2 separate regions of the Homo sapiens genome follow, and region 1 is linked to region 2. The links are contacts of gene promoters, found by promoter capture Hi-C in human tissues and cell types (Jung and others, 2019). All regions are on one chromosome and are shown on one strand. Each heading gives the region's core, a stretch centred on a gene start or on the middle of the fragment in contact. The rest is flanking DNA. Distances are from core to core; before and after follow the strand shown. Region 1 has its middle 62 kb from the start of LINC01742. Region 2 holds the start of PCK1 (phosphoenolpyruvate carboxykinase 1).

Region 1 (6,222 bases), core at 3,195-5,694, 380 kb after region 2:
GCTTCACTCCAGATTAGATCATCGAGCAATTGCTGAAATTTCAGCCTTTCGGTGCATAGACAATAACTCCTTCCTGACATCCTTATGGATGGAACGGTCTCTGTCTCGGGGCCATTTCCAAAAGCCATGAATAGAGCGGAGAAACAATTTCCCACTGTGGCTCCTGGCACGAAAAAGCTGACTTAGAGTTGCATTTGCATTCATGTCAGGTGAGGATGTAATTATTGATTGAAAGTGAGATTTTTGTCCTGAAAGGAAGATGCATGAGTGTGGGAGGGAGTCAGGTGTGTTGTTGTGCAGATCCCAAATCCTAGGCAGTTTCTGAGAGAAACCAAAGCTTGGTGTTTATGCCTTTGGCCGTGGAGCCCATTAACTGTTTTGCTCTCTGAGCTAATTCACTGGGAGTGATTGAGACGCCTGAGGTTTCTAAACCTGCCTTTCCAGATTTATCTATACACAGTCATCAAATCACATTCCATGTTCAACTAAAGCCTTGTCATTTGTTGATTTTGTGCATCAGCTATACTGAGCCACAAGAGATACCATGGCGAACAAAGGCAGGGACTCCCCTGTACTCTCCCTCCACTTTCCCTGTCCACATCTTGGCTTCAGTTACTCTCTGTCTGGATGCTCTCATCCCTACCCAAATCTCCACTGTTTTAAAGGCCCATCCAAATGACATGTCTCCACAAAGCTCACTTAGGTCCCCTATGTCAATCAGGAGTCTCTCCATTGCAAGAGACAGAAAATTAACTCACCATGATTTTTAAAAAAATAAAGAACAGGACAATTTATTGGCACACATAATTGAAGAATCCAGAGGGAGACCTTCAGGCATGGTTTGATCTAGGAGCTCGGTGGATGCTATTAGGGTATGCTCTTTCTCTCTCTCTGCTCTGATTCTCTGTGAGTAGGCCCAGCCCACTGTACAGGGGCACATGGGCACAGACATTGTGCGTCCCATATCCTTGGGCTCTAAACACTAGAAAGAACTTCTATCTCTCAGTGTCCAAGTATGGAAGTCTCAGGAAAGGACATGAATTGGGTCTGGCCTGGGGTTTGGAGTTGGAGGTTCTAATTGGTAGCACTTTGCACACACATTCGCCTGACCCCCAACCACCTTCACGAAATGGGGAAGGGTAGTTTCCTGAAGAAAGAGCCAGGATACTGGCAAACAGGAGTGAGGGGGTGGGGACAATACTGGGTACCCCTTCCCCATGCTCAATCCCTCCATTAACCAGAGCCCACCACTCTAGGAGGGGCCTCTCTTATGGGCTGCTCTGGGAGCTTGCCTTGACTCCCTGCTGGTCCAAGAGCTCCCTGAAGGCCGCAGTAGTTGTGTGTCCATCTGCACATCCCCAAAGCCCAGGGCAGGGCTGGTGCCCAGAGAGCTCTCAACAGCATTTGGTGGGCTGGGTTAGGGGAGATTTCTGCCAGTGGCAATGAGAGTGAGAACCATGCCCTCCCTTTCCTAGGATTTTGGGGCTAAAGATACAGGCAAGAGAATGAGAATGAGAGGTGGCGTTCAAGCGCGTCAGCAAAGTAGGCAGTTCTGGGTGCTGTGGTTTGGGGCTCCTAGGAGCTCCCTGACCGCTCCCTAAATATCTTCCCTTTTTCATCACAGATTTGTATCTTGGCGTCTTGTATCTTTGGGAGCCCTCAACAGAAATGCACGGATTCATGAACAGAGTTTCTGTTTCTGTCCTCTGGTGAAGAGTGTGGTAGCTGTTCCCTGCCCTGAGAAACTGTGGAAGGTCCCTCTCAGCATTGCTGTCTGCCTGAACCCACACTCCTCCTCTGCGGAAGGGGCAAGCACCCATACATGGGCTGTGCTCATGTCAAGTGTAGACCCGCTGCCATCACAGGGAATGACAGGGAAAGGCAAAGCAGCCCCTTTCTCAAATCCTGGCACAGTGAAAGCACAAAGGGTGCTATATGGATCTAGGGGAGGGGCCCAGTGAGCAGCCTGCCATCATCAGGTAGGCACCTTGTCCCTGCTAAATGAGTTGTCAAAAGAAGGACATTAACCTCTTTGAGCAGACGTGAACCAACGTCACTCTGATCAATAGGTGCCAGCATCCTGTACGGGCTCATGCCCAAAGCAAATGTGGACCAAGGGAGGGGCGCGCTGGCATATTATCAGCTGCTTACAACCAGACACGGGCATCGGATCCTTGCAGCCGTGGCGGGATACGTGGCCAGCAGGAGAGGGATCCAGGCCAGGCAGGGTGGGGGAGGGCTGGGAAGAGGCAGGACGTGCCAGGAGGACTCAGCCCTGACCCAAGGGTCTCCTAGCTAGCAAAACCCCAGTGAAATACCCTTCCCTTGTAAATCGTCATCAATAGACAGAACTGGACTCACAAGGGCTCGTGGATAGATGGATTTCTTCAACCTTTTAATGCTGCCCATCAAATCCCTGCCCAAAACATCATTTGAGCTGAGCCAGATGGATTCCTTTTTCAGGGTTAGTCAGTCTGGATCCATCTCACCTGCTGTGATTAAGCAATCACAGCAAAGCGGGAATGAATTACAGAGCACGGCTGTCTGTCGTCTGGCCTCCCTCCTGGAGAGGTGTCCTGGCGGGGGCGGCCATGTGGGGTGAGGTCAGAGTCATCGGCTCCACTGCACAGACAGTAAACACAGCCAAACACAGGCAGTCCCCAGGGAAGAAAGATTTTGTGATTCTTTACATTAACTATAAACAAGGCGGTGGTGGTTGCTGTTGTTGTTTTTAACCAAGCATATTTTTAAGGAGTGTTTAATGGGACTGCGCCTGCCATATACCTATAAACTCTGCGTGACAGCACGCTGGCTCCAGCAGAATTTGATATACACAACTCCAAACAAATAATCATATCTGACAGGCAATTTCTCCAATAAACCCAGTGAAATATTTCCCACTGCAGGGGAGGCAGTGTGCCCACGGCCTTCCGCAAAAACTGGCATGATTCGGGGGTGCTGAGGGGAGTGGGAGCTGAGGCTTGTTTACAGAGAAGGCTCCCGGACGGTAGGGACAGGGAGATACATCGTGAATTTTAAAATGCAGACAGGATCAGTCTTCTGTTAAACACCCAGGCACCTTCTGGGGGAGGGATTGGTTTAAGCATTTGCCCCATGAGCCATGGAGGTTAGGGGGCTGTGGGAAACCTCCCATTTTCTTGAAAGGCCATTGACAAAATGGGATTCCTGCATCCTGGGGAAGGGGCTTCCTTGTGTTCTAGACAGGAGTGTTGTTGTCTCTCTGCTTAAGAACCAAGTTCCGGGGGGAGGAATCTCACTGGCCTGGCCCAGGACAGCGTGGGGTCTCTCCTTAACAGCTCCATCAGACAGCGAGACCCCAAACGTGGCTTCATTCAAGCAGACCTTGCCATGGTGTCAGCACCTCGGGCCTTGGACACTGCCTCGTGCTTCCCTCTGCTCCAGTCTGGTTTTCCAGCTTCTTTACTAAGAGAGTTCTAGGAAATCCTCATTTGCGTAAGCAAGTCAAAGGTGCTCTCTGTTGCTTGCAACCCAGGAGCCATGACCAGCATACTGTATTCCACATCTGTGAAACGGGCACAGCTTCCAGTTTTATTGGCATTGGGTGCTAACCAGATCCCTGTGGTAAGTGTTACACCAGAGGGTCCCAAATTTGTTGGTCTCAGGACTCCTCAAAATTAACGAGAACCCCAAAGGGCTTTTGTCTATGTAGGTTGTATCTATCAATATTTCTGTGTTAGAAATAAAAAGGAATAATTTTTTAAACACGGGAATCACAGCACAGATTGATTTCATCAGCCAGCAAAGCAATGATGTCCTCGCATTTCATGGAGCTGCTGGAAAACTCCACCGTACTCTCACAAGAGAATGAGGACTAAAAGGCAAATCGTGGCCTTAGGAATACCCAGGGGTCCCGGGGCCACACATTTGAAGAACTGCTGTGCTAGGTAATCCTTACAATGGCCCTCGGCCCATTTTACAGCTGAGAGGACTGATGCTCGGAACTGAGAAGAGGCTGACTCTAGGGCTAGGGAGTGGATTTGAACCTGGTCTTGAGACTCTAAAGCCTGAACATCACCTCTTCCCTTTGCCCCATCAAGAGTGGTCCAGAGGAAGGACGACTCCCTCTCACAGTTCCCAGATATCACCTCTGCCCTCTGCACACTTGCCCCTTCCTCTTCCTGTTCACCAGCTGCCACGCCTCACTTCCTGTCAGCCTCCAGCTAGGCAGCCTGGGGCTCGCTTTCCAGCCTCCATCCCAGGGAAGCGGCTGCCTCCTGAGGGAGGCCAGGCCTGGACAGGTCCCCGATGTCTGTTTCCAAGCCCGACTCAGTCCGTCCTGCAGGGTGGCAGATGCTTCTCCCATCTTGGTAGTTCCTGCTATGCATGGAAGCCATCGCCTTCCAGGGGCTGGCATAGCTGTGATTAAGAGCGGGCTTTGGCCCCACATGAAGCTAGGTGCAAATTCTTGCCCCACCCCATGCTAGCGGGTGGTTCCGGATGTGTATGTTCCCTCTTGAAGCTTCCTTTTCCCTGCCTGTAAAATGGGACTAATGGTGTAAAGGCCCCTAGGTCTGACCTACCTGTCCGTCTCTGGTCCTCCCTCTCTGCACTCATTACTCTGCGTCTAATTAGTCTTCCCTCCATTTCCTCCGTGTGCCTCGTGACTTTGCACACCCTGTTCCGCTGCCTGGAAGGTCCTCCCCCACCTCTCTCCTTTCCGTCCTCAGAGCCACCTTTCAGATCTCAGCTGAATGAGGCATTCCTTGGTAACCCTGTTCAGACAGAAATTATAGAGGCCACAGTGAGAGCGCAAAATGGTGATCTTAGCGATGCCATCATATGTCACTTAACGACAGGGATGTGTTCTGCAAAATGAGTTGTTAGGTGACCTCATCATTGTGCAAACATCATACAGCCTGCTGCACAAACCCAGATGGTGTAGCCTCCTACACACCGGGCTATGTGTGTAGCCTGTGCGGCCATGGCTGTACTGAATACTGCAGGCAGTCGCAACACATGGTGAGTGTTTGTGTATCTAAACCTATCTCAACACAGACGAGGTACAGTAAAATATGGTATAAAAAATTTAAAACTGCTACACCTGTATAGGATACCTGCATGAATGGAGCTCCCAGGACTGGACGTTGGTGTGGGCGAACCAGTGAGTGAGTGTGGAGAGATGTGGTGACCTGGGACATTACCGCTCCCTGCTTCACACTTTATAAACACTGTACACTTTGGCAACGCAACATGTGTAAAAACATATTTTTCTTTCTTCAATAATAAATCAATTTAGCTTAGTGTCAATTTTTACTTTTTTAATTTTTTAACTTTTTGATGCTTTTCTAGTAACACTTAGCTTAAAACAAACACATTGTACAGATGTACAAAAATATTTTCTTTCTTTCTTTCAACAAGCTTGCAGTTGTGTTTTCTTTCTTTATATCTTTATTCTATAAACTTTTTTCTACTTTAAATATTTTTTTAAGTTTTACTTTTACTCTTTAAACTTTTTTGTTAAAAACTAAGACACAAGCACACACTTGAGCCTAGGCCTAGACAGGGACAGGATCCTCAGAATCACTGTTTTCCACCTCCACATCTTGTCCCACTGGAAGGTCTTCGGGGCAATAACACGCATGGAGCTGCCATCTTCTATGATAGCAATGCCTTCTTCCAGATTCCTCCTGAAAGACCTGCCTAAGGCTGCTTTACAGGTAACTTTATATATACATAAACTTTATATATACATATATTTATATGTGTGTATATATATATATATGGAGTACATGCTTAAATAATAAGAGGTATAATATAGTAATTACATAAACCAGTAACAGAGTAATTTATTATCAAGTATTATGTACCACACATAATTTTACGTGCTAGACTTTTATATGACTACCAGCACGGTAGGTTTGTTTGCACCAGTGTCACAACAAACACACAAGGAATGCGTCCTGCTCCGAAGTTATGATGGCTGTGATGTCACCAGGTTACAGGAATCTGGCAACTCCATTATCATGTTATGTGACCACCATTGTGTATGCGGTCCATCATTAACCAAAACGCTGTTATGAGGTGCAAGACTGTCATTACATAATCACTTGTGTGATTATTTATTTTGTACCTATAGTCCCTTTGAGACCTGCACTCTCCAATACAGGCATCACTAGCCACATGTGGCATTTTACATTTAAATTAATTACCATTAAATACAATTAAAAATTCAGCTCCTCA
Region 2 (7,058 bases), core at 3,911-6,410:
AAATTCAGATTCCTGAACCAAGGGGCATTTTTGTGGTCATCCCTTCGGTGTTCCCGTCACTGCCGTTGGTGGCTGGGGTGAAGTGAGGAGGTTGTGGCTGTGTGTGTGAGAGCCTTAGCTTGGGAAAATGGTGTCTTTGCCGTCTCTGGTTCTCAACTCTTCAGCACAACTTGGTTGTGCTGTGTGGATTTTCAACATGTTCCAGCTGTGAAATTCCTTATACCACAAACATCCAATATGGAAGCCGGAAATGTACAACAGGTCAAATCAGAGATGCCATGGGTGAGGAGGGCTTAGAGCCCGTCTCCTACAGCCTTTCTCTCTCCTCTGTGAGGGGTGAGTGGAATCCCCCTAAATCCCTTAGAGCCCAGTTGGGAAAACACGGACCTTGACTTTACATGACCTCCAAGCACTGCTGTTGAGAGTGTGTGTTTGTTTTTTTTTTTTGAGATGGAGTCTCACTCTGTCACCCAGGCTGGAATGCAGTGGTGAGATCTCGGCTCACCACAACCTCTGCCTCCCGGGTTCCAGTGATTCTCCTGCCTCAGCCTCCTGAATAGCTGGGATTACAGGCATGCGCCACCATGCCAGGCTAATTGTTTGTATTTTTAGTAGAGATGGGGTTTCTCCGTGTTGGTCAGGCTGGTCTCAAATTCCTGACCTCAGGTGATCCGCCTGCCTCAGCCTCCCATAGTCCTGGGATTACAGACGTGAGCCTCCGCACCCGGCCCAGAATTTCTGTTCTTTTATTGGCCTCCAGGTAACCAAGAAACACCAACATGTGTTGCAATCAGACTGTCCTCTGAATCCTCCACTGTGAGACCCCGCCAAAGTCATGGCTTTGTTTTCTGTTGTTCATCTGGAATGCAGCCATTCCCCACACCCACCTCCCCGGTCACACCTGCTGCATCTTGGCTGTCCCTGCGCGTGTTTTCTGCTGTCTTTGTCACTGCTCCATCCTGCATGGCATTCTACAGGCTCGTCAAAGTCCAGTTCACCCACTCTTCCAGAACCCTTCATGGTAGGCTGCTGGGAGAAATTGGGCTACAGTCCATCACAGGTGCAAAATGACACCTGAGAGGTGGCCCTGTCACTGACCACTTCTTCCCCAACACATGCTCAGTAGACTAAGTGTGGTGGACAGGCGCACCCTGGCCTGGGGGACCCAGAGGACTTGTGTTTGGAACTCCCCTTGCTTCCTTGGGTCTGCCATGACTGTCTGGCCCCCTCCTGCAGGGGCCTTGTATGAGCAGTTCGAGGAACGTTCTCACTAACTGCAAAGCACTGTACCAATGTCTTGATTACATTTTAGATAGCAGACAGTGGCCCTGGCTCTCCCACTGGAACTGTCTATGTGGCACTTGGCCATGTACAACTTCTTTAATTGGACCATCATGTAGGTCTGATGATAAACCAAATACTCTAACATCAGGGTGGGGGTCTCCCCAACTCCATCTTAAGTCTTTGAGGAAATTGTTTCTTAGGCAAGATAGCTCCATAACTTGTGGGACCACGTGCAAAATACACAGGGCCCCTTGTTCAAAAAGGACAAAAAAAAAAAAAACCTGTGTTCCTTTCTCCCATGGTCTCTCTATCTGTTGTGGCATGTTTTGCATTTGCTGTTTGATGTTGCGCTCCCTTGGGCAGGGGATGCTCATGGGAATGAGTGCAGACCCTCATGGGCGCACAACTCTGACCTGACTTCCCTGCCCTTGTGCTCAGACCCTAGTCGGGGTGGAGGGCAGCAGTGGTCACCTAGCAGGAAGAGACAGGGGAGCGGGCAGCTGAGGCTCCATCCTTAGAAGCAGAAAGGCTGAGGGAGGCAGAACTGTACAAGAGCCACGCCGCGTGCCCCATCATCCCTTCAAATGTAGAAGTGACACAAACTTAGAAGATCACTATGAATTTCAAGACAGTGACCCCAGAGCATGAAACTCCAAGAGAAGAGCCCCCTTCCAAGAGTGAGGCATGCTCTTGAGACTATGAAGTGGACCCTAGGATCAGTATGAAGTAGGTGCTCAGCAAGTGCTTGATGACTATGTGCTGGGAGTATAGACAGGAAAAGGACTCTCAGTTTGAGGACACATCTAGAGAACTGGCAATAGTAGCTGCTCATTCACTGTTGAAGGAATGAATATGATTCCTTTCTCGACCCTCGTCTATACCCAGCTGGGTTGAGACCCTCAGTTTCCTCATCTATAAAATGGGAAAGATAACAAAGGTACCTACATCGGAGAAAATCATGGAATGCATCCCATTTCTGGCATGCAGAGAAAGCCCAGTATTATGAAGATTATTATGCCCGGTGCTAGAGACATAGCAAGCATTTAATAAACGTTTGAGCTGAGGCTTCCTAGAGAATATGAGATTGCAGCAAATTGGATGCAAAACTTCTCTTTACCTTTTTAAATCCGTCTAATTATCTCGTATCAGGATATAGCTGGTGTGGTCACAAAGCAGGGAAAAAGCAATCGATATCCCTGAGTAACTGCAAAACATGGAGTGGCCCCAGGAAGGTGCAGGGAGGAAGTCCCTTTTAGTTTGAAACTATTTTAGTGTCCGATCTTTCTTTCTCCTTCTTTCCCCAATTTTGTATCTGGGCTCAACTTTTTATACATTTTTCAAAAGAAGAGCAGCCTTGGACCTAAGAAAATCTGAGCCTAAGGAGCTCCCCAAAAGCTAGGAGGTCTCTATGGCATCCGTCCCAGAAACAACTAACGCAACTCACAGGCAGCGTGAGCCACCTCCATGCCCCACCCACTGAGCACACACTGCAAAGTCCACTCGGCGGGTTAACTGGGGGTCCTCAGGGATCCCACCAGCAGGGTGGCTGTTTGGCTGCTTCTTCGGGTCCCTGTTGAAACCAACAGACAGTAGTTAGTTTTGAGGCTTACTTACAAATAAGCTGACAGTCAGATGAGGAAGACCCATGCTTCCGGCCAGCCCCTTGAAATTGTTGTCAATGAGTCCCCACTGGGGCAGGGAGTCTCTAAGGACAGGAAAAATGGGGGCCCGAGGGCATCATCTGCCAAGACCTAAGGCAACTGTACCCATACTTTTGCCTGTGTGTCCTCAAAACCCCTCTACTTTATCATGATTCTTCTTCCAGAGAACTCTGTCCTTTGAGGCAAGTCTGTAAACCAATGTTTGCTTTTTAACATTTTGACAAGGGACAGTTGCGGGGGAATCATTACCGTCCTTCCACGCTGTAAATGCAGGTAATGAAAGGATCGGATGAAGGTCGTTGGTGACTCACTGCTCTGACGTTTTACTTGAACTAGCTGTTTCTCTCCCAGAAGACTCAGAACATAAGCACCTGGAATGGATGGGTCGCATTTAGGACTCCAAATGAGTTCTGCTTTCCCTTTTTGTTTTCAATCTATGTGCTCTTTCAGGTACTCAAACCTGTTACCGTTTTATCAGCAAAATGGGACTTTCTACCAATTTGGTGGGATGAGTCTCGCCGGGAGTGATGTGTGTGTCACGGAATTGTGGTCATGCATCGGGATGGCTAATTCACTGATGTCAGATGCTAACGAAGTGGCCTCGGCTACTGAGCATCACGTCACTGTTGGGTTTAGACACAACACGATCTTATGTATGGATGACAGCACCACTAATAACAAATGCCAGTGACCTAAACGGGGAATAACTTCAAATGAAACAAAAAGCACCTCATATCATATTTATCCTGAAAGACACAACTGGCTGAATAAAATCTGAATACAGGAAACATAGCAATGGGTTGATAATTTTGGTGGAACTTGATGATGTGTGACCCACGCCCAACACAGTGTGACCCAAGCCCCCAGGAGGGTTCTCTAAGTGAGTTTGGTCGGAGGCTGCCATTCACAGTGACTTGTATTTGCCACAGCAGCTCTTTCTAAGCCCAGTCCTGGGATTATCTCAGGGATCATCCCACACCCCAGCGGGGAGATGGGCCAAGTCCCCACCTGACCTCATCTTAGGTAGAGAGGCTTCCATGGAAGTGTGGGCTGGCTGTGGGGGGTTGAGACCTAGCCCCGTTCTTTTGACATTTCACCCTGTGTTCTCCAAACTCCAGCAAGCAGCTTCCATAGCTCATTAAATTTGACTGAAGGTCTGATGGCTTGCAAAGCAAATTCTTTACAACTGTTATAAAGGTTTCATTGCTTAAGCATATAATCTAGCAAAACTGCCAAGCCCCCTCCACTCCCTAAACTCTAAGACTTGCCAGGGAAGAGAACAGTGGCCAGTGGACTGCAGGAGTAACTGCACTCAGCCCAGAACTCCCTGGAGGACACAGGGAAGGTTCTGGAAAGGTGGCGGTACCTCACAGGGAGAGACGTGGTGCTCCAGGGCCCAACTTGCTCATGTTCAGATCCTCACTCTGCAACCCACCAGCCGGCTGTGAGTGGCTACACAATCTCTGCCTCAGTTTCCCTATCTGTACATGGGTTGTTCATAGCCTCCACCTCAGAGGGTAGTAATGATGCCAAGCTCTTAGAACAGTGCTCAGCATGTGTGCATCCTGTGCCTACTCTATGCCAAGCACTACAGAGAGAAAAATGAACAAAATAGGGAGAAATCCCTGCCCTCATGGAGTTTACATCGGGGCAGGGGGCGGGGGCGGCACAGAGCAGACAATCAATACAGTGATTAGCCCCCAGTTAGGTTAGGCATTTCCAATCTTTGCCAATAAGCCACATATTTGCCCAAGTTAGGGTGCATCCTTCCCATGAACTTTGACTGTGACCTTTGACTATGGGGTGACATCTTATAGCTGTGGTGTTTTGCCAACCAGCAGCTCTTGGTACACAAAATGTGCTGCTAGCAGGTGCCCCGGCCAACCTTGTCCTTGACCCACCTGCCTGTTAAGAAAAGGGTGTTGTGTTTTGCAACAGCAGTAAAATGGGTCAAGGTTTAGTCAGTTGGAAGTTGTGTCAAAACTCACTATGGTTGGTTGAGGGCTCGAAGTCTCCCAGCATTCATTAACAACTATCTGTTCAATGATTATCTCCCTGGGGCGTGTTGCAGTGAGTTGGCCCAAAGCATAACTGACCCTGGCCGTGATCCAGAGACCTGCCCCCTGACGTCAGTGGCGAGCCTCCCTGGGTGCAGCTGAGGGGCAGGGCTATTCTTTTCCACAGTATTTAAAGCTGGGAGGTTCTGCCACCAAGCACGGCCTTCCCACTGGGAACACAAACTTGCTGGCGGGAAGAGCCCGGAAAGAAACCTGTGGATCTCCCTTCGAGATCATCCAAAGAGAAGAAAGGTAAGTAGAGCTTTGCATTTACATTTTGAAAAATTACAAAGATGAACTCATTTTTTTCCTGAGAGCAATAACTATTTGGCAATGCACAGCCCTGGCAAAAGGCCGTCGAATGTGTTTGAAGGTGTCTGTTGTTGTTTTTGTTCAGGACGCTTGCGTTTTCTATTTCAGGTGACCTCACATTCGTGCCCCTTAGCAGCACTCTGCAGAAATGCCTCCTCAGCTGCAAAACGGCCTGAACCTCTCGGCCAAAGTTGTCCAGGGAAGCCTGGACAGCCTACCCCAGGCAGTGAGGGAGTTTCTCGAGAATAACGCTGAGCTGTGTCAGCCTGATCACATCCACATCTGTGACGGCTCTGAGGAGGAGAATGGGCGGCTTCTGGGCCAGATGGAGGAAGAGGGCATCCTCAGGCGGCTGAAGAAGTATGACAACTGGTAAGCTCGGCCCCCGCTGCCTGTCCCAGCACCCTGCAGGCAGGGCTCCCCTGCGTCTCCTGGGAGTTGGTGGAGAAAGGTGAATGAAGGCCTTCGGGTAGTTTCAGACTCTTGAGAAGATGAATGCAATGGTCAGAACCATACAGACTTGAATTTTGTGACATTAGTGGGCCAGCCCAAGCTTTAAATGAGGTGTGTGCACAAAAGCTCTGCCAACTAGATTCCTGATTAAAAAAAAGGCAGCCCCTCTCCTACAGACCAGGTCCTAGTGGAGTAAATGTCCACCTGGCCATGTCTTAGATGGTCTGTGTGTTCACACTGATGGACTGTTGTTAGCGTGCTCAGCACTCTGCTAGGCATGGAAAGCCACGGTACTGAAGGAGATGGTTCGCTGCCCGTGGTGCTTGGCTGAAAGGAAGCCTGTGATTTTTGCAGCTGGTTGGCTCTCACTGACCCCAGGGATGTGGCCAGGATCGAAAGCAAGACGGTTATCGTCACCCAAGAGCAAAGAGACACAGTGCCCATCCCCAAAACAGGCCTCAGCCAGCTCGGTCGCTGGATGTCAGAGGAGGATTTTGAGAAAGCGTTCAATGCCAGGTTCCCAGGGTGCATGAAAGGTGAGCGGAACATTGATTTGATTGGGTAAAACAGCAGAGAGCCTTTTCTTATTTACATCTATCCTAATGGTAATTCAAACAATAATGGAAGCTCCCACCACCTCAGATGTCTTTCAGTTCCATACATGAAGTTGGCAATGTATTGAAAATGCACATCCCTCTTCTGCTTTTACAGACTGTCTTATACAAACGTGAAAACTAGTTCCATGCATATGGGTTTTAAATAGCTTGGTGGGACCCAATTGCACATTTATGAAAACTCTTTAATTTCAGCAGGCTGTTCACTTTCCAGTGGCCTCTTCTAACCCAGGGGGCTGGTGACCAGCAGGGTGTGGTGGTGTTAGTGGAACACCGTGAAAATGGGTCTACCTGGGAAAAAAATGCTGGTCGTGTTCGAAGTCCAAGGTCATTTCTCACCAGTGCCCACCCATCGCACCCTGTAGGTCGCACCATGTACGTCATCCCATTCAGCATGGGGCCGCTGGGCTCGCCTCTGTCAAAGATCGGCATCGAGCTGACGGATTCACCCTACGTGGTGGCCAGCATGCGGATCATGACGCGGATGGGCACGCCCGTCCTGGAAGCAGTGGGCGATGGGGAGTTTGTCAAATGCCTCCATTCTGTGGGGTGCCCTCTGCCTTTACAAAGTAAGTGTATTATTTCAGAATCAAAAGTCAAAATAAAAAAGAAAGCTGAACGCAAACCCCAGTGAGTGCCTCGGGGACCCCCAAGCAGGGCCCTGGCGCACTGACTTG

The links. The method cuts DNA at HindIII sites, captures the fragments that hold promoters and counts their contacts. A contact is called where the count stands out against the background at its distance.
Region 1: a contact is called between a fragment that was not itself captured here and the fragment with the promoter of PCK1 in region 2, in 4 of the 25 tissues and cell types used here (adrenal gland, bladder, heart right ventricle and 1 more).

Annotation. Positions count from the first base shown.
Region 1 is chr20:57,939,225-57,945,446 of GRCh38, forward strand. No RefSeq gene overlaps it. Among named protein-coding and RNA genes, the nearest start is that of LINC01742, 62 kb to the right of the region's middle. The HindIII fragment of the contact is 4,050 bases long and covers 2,420-6,222 here.
Region 2 is chr20:57,555,950-57,563,007 of GRCh38, forward strand. PCK1 (phosphoenolpyruvate carboxykinase 1) reads left to right here and starts at 5,161. Exons shown (of 10, transcript NM_002591.4): 1 at 5,161-5,254; 2 at 5,423-5,686; 3 at 6,122-6,303; 4 at 6,747-6,950. The coding sequence starts at 5,463. The HindIII fragment of the contact is 15,943 bases long and covers 1-7,058 here.